Linked DNA regions of Homo sapiens: region 1 is linked to region 2. The links are contacts of gene promoters, found by promoter capture Hi-C in human tissues and cell types (Jung and others, 2019). All regions are on one chromosome and are shown on one strand. The core of a region is centred on a gene start or on the middle of the fragment in contact, and the rest is flanking DNA. Distances in the headings are between cores, read along the strand shown.

Region 1 (5,546 bases), core at 468-2,967, 35 kb after region 2:
GGCTCTTAGGTGGAAGGGACTTGCCTTGTCTCAGGTGAGACTTTGGACTGTGGACTTTTGGGTTAATGCTGAAATGAGTTAGGGCTTTGGGGGACTGTTGGGAAGGCATGATTTGTTTTGAAATGTGAGGACAAGAGATTTGGAGGGGCCAGGGATGGAATGATATGGTTTGGTTGTGTCCTTATCCAAATCTCAAATTGAATTGTATCTCCCAGAATTCCCACTTGTTGTGGAAGGCTCCCAGGGGGAGGTAATTGAATCATGGGGCCCTGTCTTTCCTGTGCTATTCTCGTTATAGTTAATAAGTTTCACGAGATCTGATGGGTTTATCAGGGGTTTCTGCTTTTGCTTCTTCCTCATTTTTCTCTTGTCGCCACCAGGTAAGAAGTGCCTTTTGCCTCCCACCATGATTCTGAGGCCTCCCCAGCCATATGGAACTGTAAGTCCAATGAAACTTCTTTTTATTCTCAGTTTCAGGTATGTCTTTATCAGCAGCATAAAAATGAACTAATGTTCAATTCTTGGGGGCTGTCAACTCCATGCTCTCACTTCACAAATATTGCCAAATCCCATTTGGAACCAAGTATCCTGAATATCTTGGCACCAAGGCCAATATATTATTTGTGTCCACACATTTCCCCTAATTTCAGCCTTGGTAGACAGGAAACCAACCAAAATTACATAAATGTGTCATATCAAGTAGGGAAATATGAAAGCAACAGTATTCAAAGACAAAATTGAATATGCCTCATCACCATTGCTTTGCCATTGATATTCCGGATATTGTGGTTGTCTTCTCAATATCCATTCCCATTTTTGTTGGTACTATCCTACTTTTAATTTAAACATCTATCCCAGCTGAATGCAAGGGTATGTGCTTTTGAGGAAACGGTGACAACCTTGCATTGAAGAATTGAGTGTGTGTCTCAGCAGTCACATAATGTTGCCTCTGACCACCATTCTTGGCCAAAGATTGTCATGTGACCCTATTTGCGATAGTAGGAAGCAAGGGAAGGTTTACTGGGGTTTTCAGAGAGAGCTTCTAGAAAAACCGCCTGGTATCAGCAAAATGGGAAAGCAAGGAGGAAACACAATTTGATGAGAAAAGGTCATTTTAGATATGATGACTTTTATTCTTCCTTTCAGTAAGTGTTGGGTGCCTATCATGTGCTGGACACCATGTTCCTGCTCTCAGGACACACAGACCAGTGAGGGAGACTAACATGTAAAGAGATAATAGCAATACAACCAGCAAGGGAAATTTACTGTGTTGTGTGCACAGGGTATTGTGAAAGGACCCGTAAGTGACAGGGTCAGGGAAAGTTTCTGCATCAGTTACCCCCTAGGAGGAACCCCAAAGTGGGGTGAGGTGGGAAGGGAAGAATGGGAATTGCGGGCACATGGGACTGCCCGAGCCAATGCATAAGGCACCCACCAGAGCCACATAAGGAGCTGAGATGTTGAGGAGAGGCTCTTACCCAAGCCTTCATCTGCAGGCACAAAGTGGAGCAGGGTGAGTGGTCACCCTTGGCAATGTGACCAACATAAGTGTGTGTGCTAATACCACTGACCCTTGAACAGGATGGGCCTGAACTGTGGAGGTCCACCTATATGTGGATTTTCTTCTGCCACTGCCACTCCTGAGACAGCAAGACCAACTCCTTGTTCTCCTCCTCCTCAGCCTACTCAATATGAAGACGACGAGAATGAAGACCTTTATGAGGGTCCACTTCCACTTAATGAGTAGTAAGGATATTTTCTCTTCCTTATGATTTTCTTAATCACATTTTCTTTTCTCTAGCTTACTTTATTGTACAAATACAGTATGTAATACATATACAAAGTATGTGTTAATAGACTGTTTATGTTATCGGTAAGGCTTCCATCAACTGTAGGCTATGAGTAGTTAAGTTTTGGGGAGTCAGAAGGTATACTCAAATTTTTTACTGTGCCGGGGGTCGGCGCCCCTAGTACCTGAGATGTTCAAGAGTCAACTGTAATTCCCACCTCCCAAATCACATGCTTTTCCTCTCAGGGAGAGGGAAGTATAGATGGAAGAATAGACACAGCTACTCTTTGTTGAGTTCCTACTACGTTTCAAGAACTGTCTTAGTGGCTGGGCACAGTGGCTTACGCCTGTAGTTCCAGCACTTCGGGAGGCTAAGGTGAGCAGATTGCTTGAAGTCAGAAGTTCAAGACCAGCCTGGGGAACATGGCAAAACCTCATCTCTACAAAAAATACAAAAATTAGCCAGGCATGGTGATGTGCACCTGTGGTCCCAGCTACATGTGAGGCTGAGGCAGGAGGATTGCTTGAGCCCAGGAGGACAAGGCTGCAGTGAGCCATGATTGGATCACTGCACTCCAGCCTGAGTGATAGAGCAAAACTCTGTCTCAAAAAGAAAAAGAAAAAGAAAAAGAACTGTTAGATGTTGTCTCAATAATCATAACAATTCTCATGCTAAAGAAGATACATTTGAAATTCTGATAGGTTCTATGATTTTCCTAAGGCATACAGCTAGCAAGTGGTGGAGCAGGGATTTTCAGATCATTCCGGCTCCAAAGCTCAAGTCTACACTTAATTTTGCTTATGTTGAATCAGCTTGAAACTTCAGTTTGAATGTAACCACTTGGTATTAATTAGAAAGAAGGAGAAATTGGCAAGTGGTATTTTAAAGGCTTTGAACCAGTCTCTGGAGAGCACATTAAATACTCAAAAGCAAAGCAAAAATGTATACTAATAAGATCACAGCCATTCAAAAGGCAATTGTTTGCCATAAGTTCCAAAAAGAATAAAAGGAGGGGAGCTCAGTTTCTCCAATTTTTCATGCCAAGGGCTCAGGTTCCAAGTTTCCCTCATGGCTCTTTCTTCACCTCTTCTCCTAACATGTTCCCCGTCACAGCTTCACTCCATAAGATGTAAGTGGTATTTATAGGAAATGCTGATCACTGCCAACAAGAGAATACTCGCATTAAACACAATTTAGAACAACCTTCTCTCCAGTTGTTTGTAATAACCTCTTGGAAGTTTGAAATTAAAATCTGTATCCCATCCAGCCTTTCTCCCCGCCTCTTCTATTACACTAAGCCAAGAGCTTGCCCTAAACATCCTTCAACTCCCTGGCCCACCACCCTGACGTGCTCTGTAGCTAATTATTTCAATCCCTAAATATTAGTCCTTTCTCTTGTCTCCTCTAGTGTCCTGGACATGATTCATCCTCCTGGGTATTTCATTATTTATGTCAATGAACATCTTTTTCCCTTGAACACACTCTTTCCCCTTTCCTTACCCTATCTTCTGTTAATATATTTTCAACAAAATATGTGTAGAATTTCTCTTTCTTCACAGGAAAAGATCCTAGTGTTGAGATAATCCAACCTTCTAATTCAAGAGACAAAGCCATTAAAACCCAGAGAGATTATGCAACTTATCTAAACTCACACAGCTAGAAAGAGGCTAAGTCAAATCAAGAAAGAAGGACCCTTAGGTTCTAGTTCAATACTTGTTTCAACACCCTGCACTACCACCGAGTCACAGCCACCCCAGCCACTTGGCAATTTGGTGTCAGATTGTGTCTGCCCAAGGCTGGGGGTATGTCCCATTTCATTTCTCAAGTGACATGTAACATAGTGGCACAGGTGCAGTTGTCTTAGTGGTTTGTCTTGTGGCCCAAATGCTGCATATGTACTCATTATTCTGCAATAAGGTTCTTAAAAGAGGTATCTTCCAAAAGCCTTCCCTCCAAGGCCATTTGCTGGTGTGTGCCATCCCTCCTCTAAGGAAGTTTTAAGGGGACAAGGCGAGAATTGTTAAGTCAAAGTATGTGAGGCTGGGTGGGCTGGGTGTGGCTTCTCAGAGGCAGGGCCCAGAATTGCTAAGCTTTGCAATTGTGCTACAGAGAATCTGGGGGGGTGTGACAAAGATGTTTTTCTTTGTTCCTATTGCCTTAAGGTTCTTTGGGACTATTGCTTTGCTAATGAACACAGCAAACTACACAGAAAAAGCAGCCATCAAAGCCAGAGTTTTCACTGTGGCATGTGGGTCTACAAAACAGCAGTCCTCATGCCCATTTGAGTCATTCATGTCTTGACATCTGCCAGTGTGGATATAATCATTGATTGTTCTTTTAAAGCCTGAAATGCTTGTAAGTACCAGGAAACAGAAGGTGAGCTTCTGGACATGAGTGGAAAAGCCCCGGCACCTGAGTTTGGTGGGACAGGACAATGTTTGACCCACTGCCCAGGACTGGCTTTGTGGGTGTGCAACTTGTGCTCGTTGTGATGCTCTGCTAGTGTTGTCTTGAAGTTTTTTATTTGTATTTAGTTTTTTATTTTATTTTATTTTTATTTTTATTTGAGACGGTCTTGCTCCGTCTTTTCTTTTCTTTTTTTTTTCTTCTTACGAGACGGAGTCTCTCTCTGTCTCCCAGGCTGGAGTGCAGTGGCACAATCTCTGTTCAGTGCAACCTCTGCCTCCCGGGTTCAAGCAATTCTTCTGCCTCAGCATCCCTAGTAGCTGGGATTACAGGCTCCCGCCACCACGCCCAGCTAATTTTTGTGTTTTTAGTAGAGACAGATTTCTCCACGTTGGCCAGGCTTGTCTTGAACTCCTGACCTCAAATGATCTGCCCACATTGGCCTCCCAAAGTGCTGGGATTACAGACGTGAGCCACCGTGCCCAGTCAATTCTTAATTTTTGAAATGGTTCTCCCATCTCATTTTGCAACAAGGCCCACAAATCATGTAGCCACTACCCTTCCCTCACCCTATTAACTCCCACATGGAGTTCCTTCTCTAAGCTAGGCTGAAAGAGCTATGATCTTTTCATTGCTGTTTCCCATCTGTGCCTAGAAAATTGTATATTGATTATCATTGGACCAAAACTTTTTTCTCCCTTATCAATGCCCAACTTTATGAGTGCTCAGAACTTAATTACAAACATCAATCTACCTGGAGAACTTGAATTTTATTTCTTAGCTTTTCCTAGCTCTAAGAGTCTATCATTCTAATTTTCTTCTGGCTTGGATGTTAATTAATTCTGTAACTAGGTTTTTCGTTTGTTTTTTTTTTTTTTTTAATTTTTTTTTTTTTATTATACTCTAAGTTTTAGGGTACATGTGCACATTGTGCAGGTTAGTTACATATGTATACATGTGCCATGCTGGTGCGCTGCACCCACTAACGTGTCATCTAGCATTAGGTATATCTCCCAATGCTATCCCTCCCCCCTCCCCCGACCCCACCACAGTCCCCAGAGTGTGATATTCCCCTTCCTGTGTCCATGTGATCTCATTGTTCAATTCCCACCTATGAGTGAGAATATGCGGTGTTTGGTTTTTTGTTCTTGCGATAGTTTACTGAGAATGATGGTTTCCAATTTCATCCACGTCCCTACAAAGGACATGAACTCATCATTTTTTATGGCTGCATAGTATTCCATGGTGTATATGTGCCACATTTTCTTAATCCAGTCTATCATTGTTGGACATTTGGGTTGGTTCCAAGTCTTTGCTATTGTGAATAGTGCCGCAATAAACATACGTGTG
Region 2 (4,965 bases), core at 2,240-4,739:
GTGATCTGAAAAGCACATTCAAATTAATTTTCTGCATACAAATCTCAGACTCAGAGTGCTTCCGATGGAAACCAACCTGCAACAATCCCAAGAGTTGGACCTATCCCTTTCTATGTCTTCTCATTTAAAACATTAAGATATCCTTAAGAAAAAAAAGTCCCTTTAATGTCCTCTGCTTATGTGGAGCATTAGCTTTCTTAATAATATATTAATACCTTATTACTGTTGTATTTTCATCCTTAGCCCTATGCTCTGCTTTTCATCTGTTACGTAGATCATTAGAAAGCAAGAGCTCTTCCATGAGGTCCATACACATCTCATGGGTTTCTTAAACATGAGTCCTGCTTTCTCTTTATTGGGACCATTTGTGATAGCCCCTTGAAAATTACATTTTTAGTTCTTCCCTTTTTTTTTTTTTTTTTAAACAAAGTCTTGCTCTGTCACCCAGGCTGGAGTACAGTGGCGTGATTTTGGCTCACTGCAACCTCCGCCTACCAGGTTCAAGTGATTGTCCTGCCTCAGCCTCCTGCATAGCTGGGATTACAGGTGGGCACCACAACGCCCTGCTGATTTTTGTAATTTGAGTAGAGACAGGGTTTTACTATGTTGCCCAGGCTGGTCTCCAACTCCTGACCTCAAGTGATCCACCAGCCTCGGCCTCCCAAAGTGCTGGGATTACAGGCGTGAGCCACCACACCTGGCCAGTTCTTCCCAATCTTCCCAATCTTCATAGCCGTGTTTCCTCATCTGCAAATAGGTGTCTGTAGATTTCCATTGAATTTTTTTGTGTTCTACTTTTGTAAAGACTAAGAGACATGGCTGACCCAGCCAATGTATGATTAACTTATCTTAAAATTCAAACGCCAGTTTAGACCTGTTCCACTAGACCCTCCTCCCCTTGTCCCCATATTCTCTAGAGTATTAGCCTATTGAGAAGCAGGAGAATGCACTATTGAGTGAATTGAGAGGTTCTTCCCTGGCAGTGAGTGGGATTCAGAAATATTCTGGGGCCCCCTTTCCTTTTTTGGAGCGGACCATGCCCTTAGGCCACCCCTTTAAGGCTATGCATGGTGTGTGGCCAGCCCAACCACTGGGCTTCAGCCTGGGTTCCTGGTTTTCTCTTCTATCATCTGCCGGGCCAGTAGCCAAGGCTGAGCCCAGTCCAGTTGGCTGAGACTCTGCTTCTCCTAGTTTCTGCCAACTTTCTTTGTTTCTGGTATTTCTACTTTAATTCATACGTTGATCCTTGGGCCAAGACTCTGGTCAACAGGATACCAGGAACTCTTGCTTCCCAGAATGCCCCCTCCTTCCCCTGCCCTCAGATCAGGCCCTTCATACTGATGTTGGCCCAAGTTGCACCTGTTCCCATCCTGACTGCACCTTAGTCCACACTAAGACCTTGAACCTGAACTGTTAGCATCTTGCAGCCTGGGTGAGTTCCCCTACCCTGTGCCAGGCACCTCAGCAAAATCCTCACAGTGAATGCTTCCATACCCATCACTTCAGCTAGTACTGCCGCTTTGACAAATTAGTCCCTGTTAATGAGAATTAAGCCCAGGGTAGTTTGTTCCCCTGATTAGATCCACACCCTCTGAAGGGTAAAATTGCTGGCAAAGCAAGTGAAATGTTCCCAGAATTTGAGCATTTATCTTAATGGGGCTTTGTATGAGGATTTAATTTAGGTTTAGTTGTGACCAAAATATCCTGCCTCTTTGTTTTGTTGCCTGTTATTAAAACATTAGTCAAAGCCTCCATCTCAGCAGATCTATTTGTTATTTTCCCACAATTACATTTTTAAAATTTTCTTTAACTTCAGATTTGTAGCTATGCAAAATGATGATATCTTACTCCAAAGCAAAAAATAATTTATAACAGAAAACAAGCAGTATTAACACATAAACAAGCCACAGTGGAGCAGTTTACTGGGATTTGTAAAATAGAGCACTACTGAAATGCCAGACACTCTGACATCAACTATATGTCAGAGGGGCTAAAAGTCAAGTACCAAGAACCAAGATGTTCTAAGGATTAGCAGGGAGAGTGTCTCATAATCAAGCAGTAATAAGATGACTAAGGTTATAATAGTCCAATAACTAAGATATTTGTTGCTATTTCCAAGGACTATAAGTAGCTTAAAATGTTATATTAAGGTATTTGTTATAATTTCCTAAACTAAGATCCTACATTTGTAAATATTTACTCAAAATCGTTTGTTAGCGTAACCTCTTAAGCAAATTATACTTTGCTTGGGCCAGTATTAGATTTTATTTTTATTCTGTAGCCCAGGTATACATACTAGCCCTAGATAAACCCATGGTGGACAATTTACACATGAACGAAGAATCATTTGCAGGTATAAAGCCAGTGAATAGTCAAAATTGCACAACGTACTACCACCCAAGCAAGTCTATTCTTTATAAGATTATCTGTCCTGAGCTCCGTAAGTTTGTAAGTGGCCACCCTGTTTTCCTTCAAACTGGTATTCAGCTAAGTGGACAGGCTAGGCAAATCTACTGGCAGATTCCATCTCATTATGCTGGAACAATGACTGGAATTTAAGGAATGATATATGAAGCAAGATAATTTAAGACCACCAAAGAAGTGACAAAGGGAACCACATTTTTGTGTGTCCCAGAAGCTGTCCTGCCTCCAGATCAACAGATGAACAGCAAGTTCAGCACAGGGCAAATGGAGGGCGCACTCAAACTTCAGGGCCCTTTGTTTAACCTCATGTGCTCCAGGTTGACTCTTGAGAATTAAAACCCAAAACTCACATTACAAGCATCTTTCAAATTCTATTATTGAACTAGAGATATGGAAATAGATCTAGACAAATTATGGGGGTGAGGGGGTGAAGAAGGGACAGGCAGCCGCTGTCCTCTAAGGTTTCACAAAATGGAAGCAGGCAACCCAGAGAGTCACTTTAGCTTCTGAACCGACTTCAGTAAAGGCTGGTCTTCTTCATGATCCGAAGGAACTCCTCCTCGTTCACTTCGCCGTCCCCATCCCGATCAGCTTCGTCGATCATCTCCTGCAGCTCCTCATCCGTGAGGTTCTCCCCCAGCTCGTTGGCCACACGCTTCAGGTTTTTGAACGAGATCTTCCCGGTCTCATCGTCATCAAAGAGCCTGAAGGCCTTCAGGATTTCTTCTTTGGTGTCCTTCTCGGACATCTTCTGCGTCATCACGGCCAGGAAGTCATTGAAGCTGATCTTCCCCGTGCCTTCCCTGTCCACCTCGGAGATCATTTTCTTCATCTCTTCCTTCCTGGGTTCGAAGCCCAGCGCTCTCATGGCCACCTTCAGCTCCTTCGCGTCGATGGTCCCACTTCCGTCCACGTCGAAGAGGTCAAATGCTTCCCGAACTTCTTGCTTCTGATCCTCAGTGAGCTCGGGCTTAGGTGCCACCTTTCTCTTTTGGCCGGTGGAGGCAGCGCTGGGCTTCTTGAAGCCGGAAGCCATCCTGCCGCTCTGGCCGCCGTGGTCCCAACGGCACCGCCCCGCGCTCTCATTCGGGCGCCCCCCGCCGGCGCGGCGCGGGACCACCCCTCGCTCACTGCCAACGCCCACGCCCGCTGGGGCCTGGAGCCGGCCCGGGGAACCTCTTCCTACGCCCTCCCATCTGCGGGATCTTGCTTAGGCGAGAATCCGCTGTCCCCTCGGGTCATTAACCGGTTTCCACGAGTTGACGCCTGAGCTGGCAAGAACAGCCTGTAGCCACAGTTGTCTTCTGTAATCCACTGGCGCTGGCAGTTCTTTCCAAGATATGTGCTAGCATCCATAAGACCCCAGTTTTATAGGTTTCTTTAGGGACTCTTCCTCTCTCTCTCTCTCTCTCTCCTCTCTCTCTTTTGACAGGAGTGCACTGGTGCCACTCAGCTTACTGCAGCCTCCACCTTCCAGGATCAAGTGATCCTCCCACCTCAGCCTCCATAGTAGCTGAGACTACAGGGCATGCCACCACACCCAGCTAAATTAAAAAAAAAAATTTTTTTTTTTATAGAGACAGAGTCTCACCATGTTGCCCAGGCTGGTCTGAAACTCCTGGGATCAAGGGATTTCCCGCCCCAGCCTCCCAAAGTGCTAGAATTACAGGCATGAGCTACCAAGCCGGGCCTCTCCTTTTTATACCATTTAAAAAACCCTCTTGTTCTAGCGGCAACACCCAATGAGGTGACAGGTCCTAAGGGTAAATTTAGGATAATCAAGATTGAGTGTGATCACTTGACATTCAATGTGGGGAAGGAGAAGGAAGAGAGAATATTAAAAGTCATACCATGTGTTCAACTTGACATAAATGGGAAACAGAGAAAATGGAAAAATTTATGTATAAAATGCGTAGAAGTTTGTCTCCTGACATTACACTCAACAATAATACAATGTTTCTGGCATGTTCTCAAATATGAAATGTAATATCCAAATGTATGATTTACTTTCAGTGTTTCCATTTTACATACTCAGTATAATTGCACTTGAATAATGGTCATAATTTCATTCATGAGGCTTTTGATTTGGAGGGAGGGAAGTGGAAATACTACATTCTGGTATATTCTAGTATTTTCTTTTCTCTAACCTCCTAGCAGCACATTACTCTCCTTGCTTATCATCCAATCAGAGCTGTGCTGAAACCCACGCTCTGGTCGCCTTCCTTTGGCAATGGGCACAGGAGATGATGCAGGACATGTTGGGACTCAAAATTGCCTCCTGGGAATAAAGCGGTTCTCCTACAAACCAAAGAGCAAGAGGAAAATGGAAAAGAAAAAAAAAATTACCAAATAAGCCCACCAAGGAATTGCCTGTAGAATTACTTTGCATTCTTTTAAATAGTTACAGAAAAGAAAGCTGACTTATTTTTTTAGCATTCTCCCCCTGCCCCGCCCCCCCGCAATCAAATCTCAATCTATTAATATATCAATACCTTTTGTAACCTATGAAGGTTACAAAAGATGTCACTTTGAAGAGTTTGT

What was found. Contacts are between HindIII fragments. The study calls those that stand out against the background at their distance.
Region 1: a fragment that was not itself captured here is called in contact with the fragment with the promoter of CETN1 in region 2 in 2 of the 25 tissues and cell types used here (IMR-90 fibroblasts and neural progenitor cells).

What each region holds. Positions count from the first base shown.
Region 1 is chr18:541,259-546,804 of GRCh38, reverse strand. No RefSeq gene overlaps it. Among named protein-coding and RNA genes, the nearest start is that of LINC01925, 29 kb to the right of the region's middle. The HindIII fragment of the contact is 7,899 bases long and covers 1-5,546 here.
Region 2 is chr18:578,904-583,868 of GRCh38, reverse strand. It overlaps CETN1 (centrin 1), which reads right to left and starts at 3,489. Exons shown (of 1, transcript NM_004066.3): 1 at 1,755-3,489. The coding sequence starts at 3,460. The coding sequence ends at 2,942. The HindIII fragment of the contact is 12,122 bases long and covers 1-4,965 here.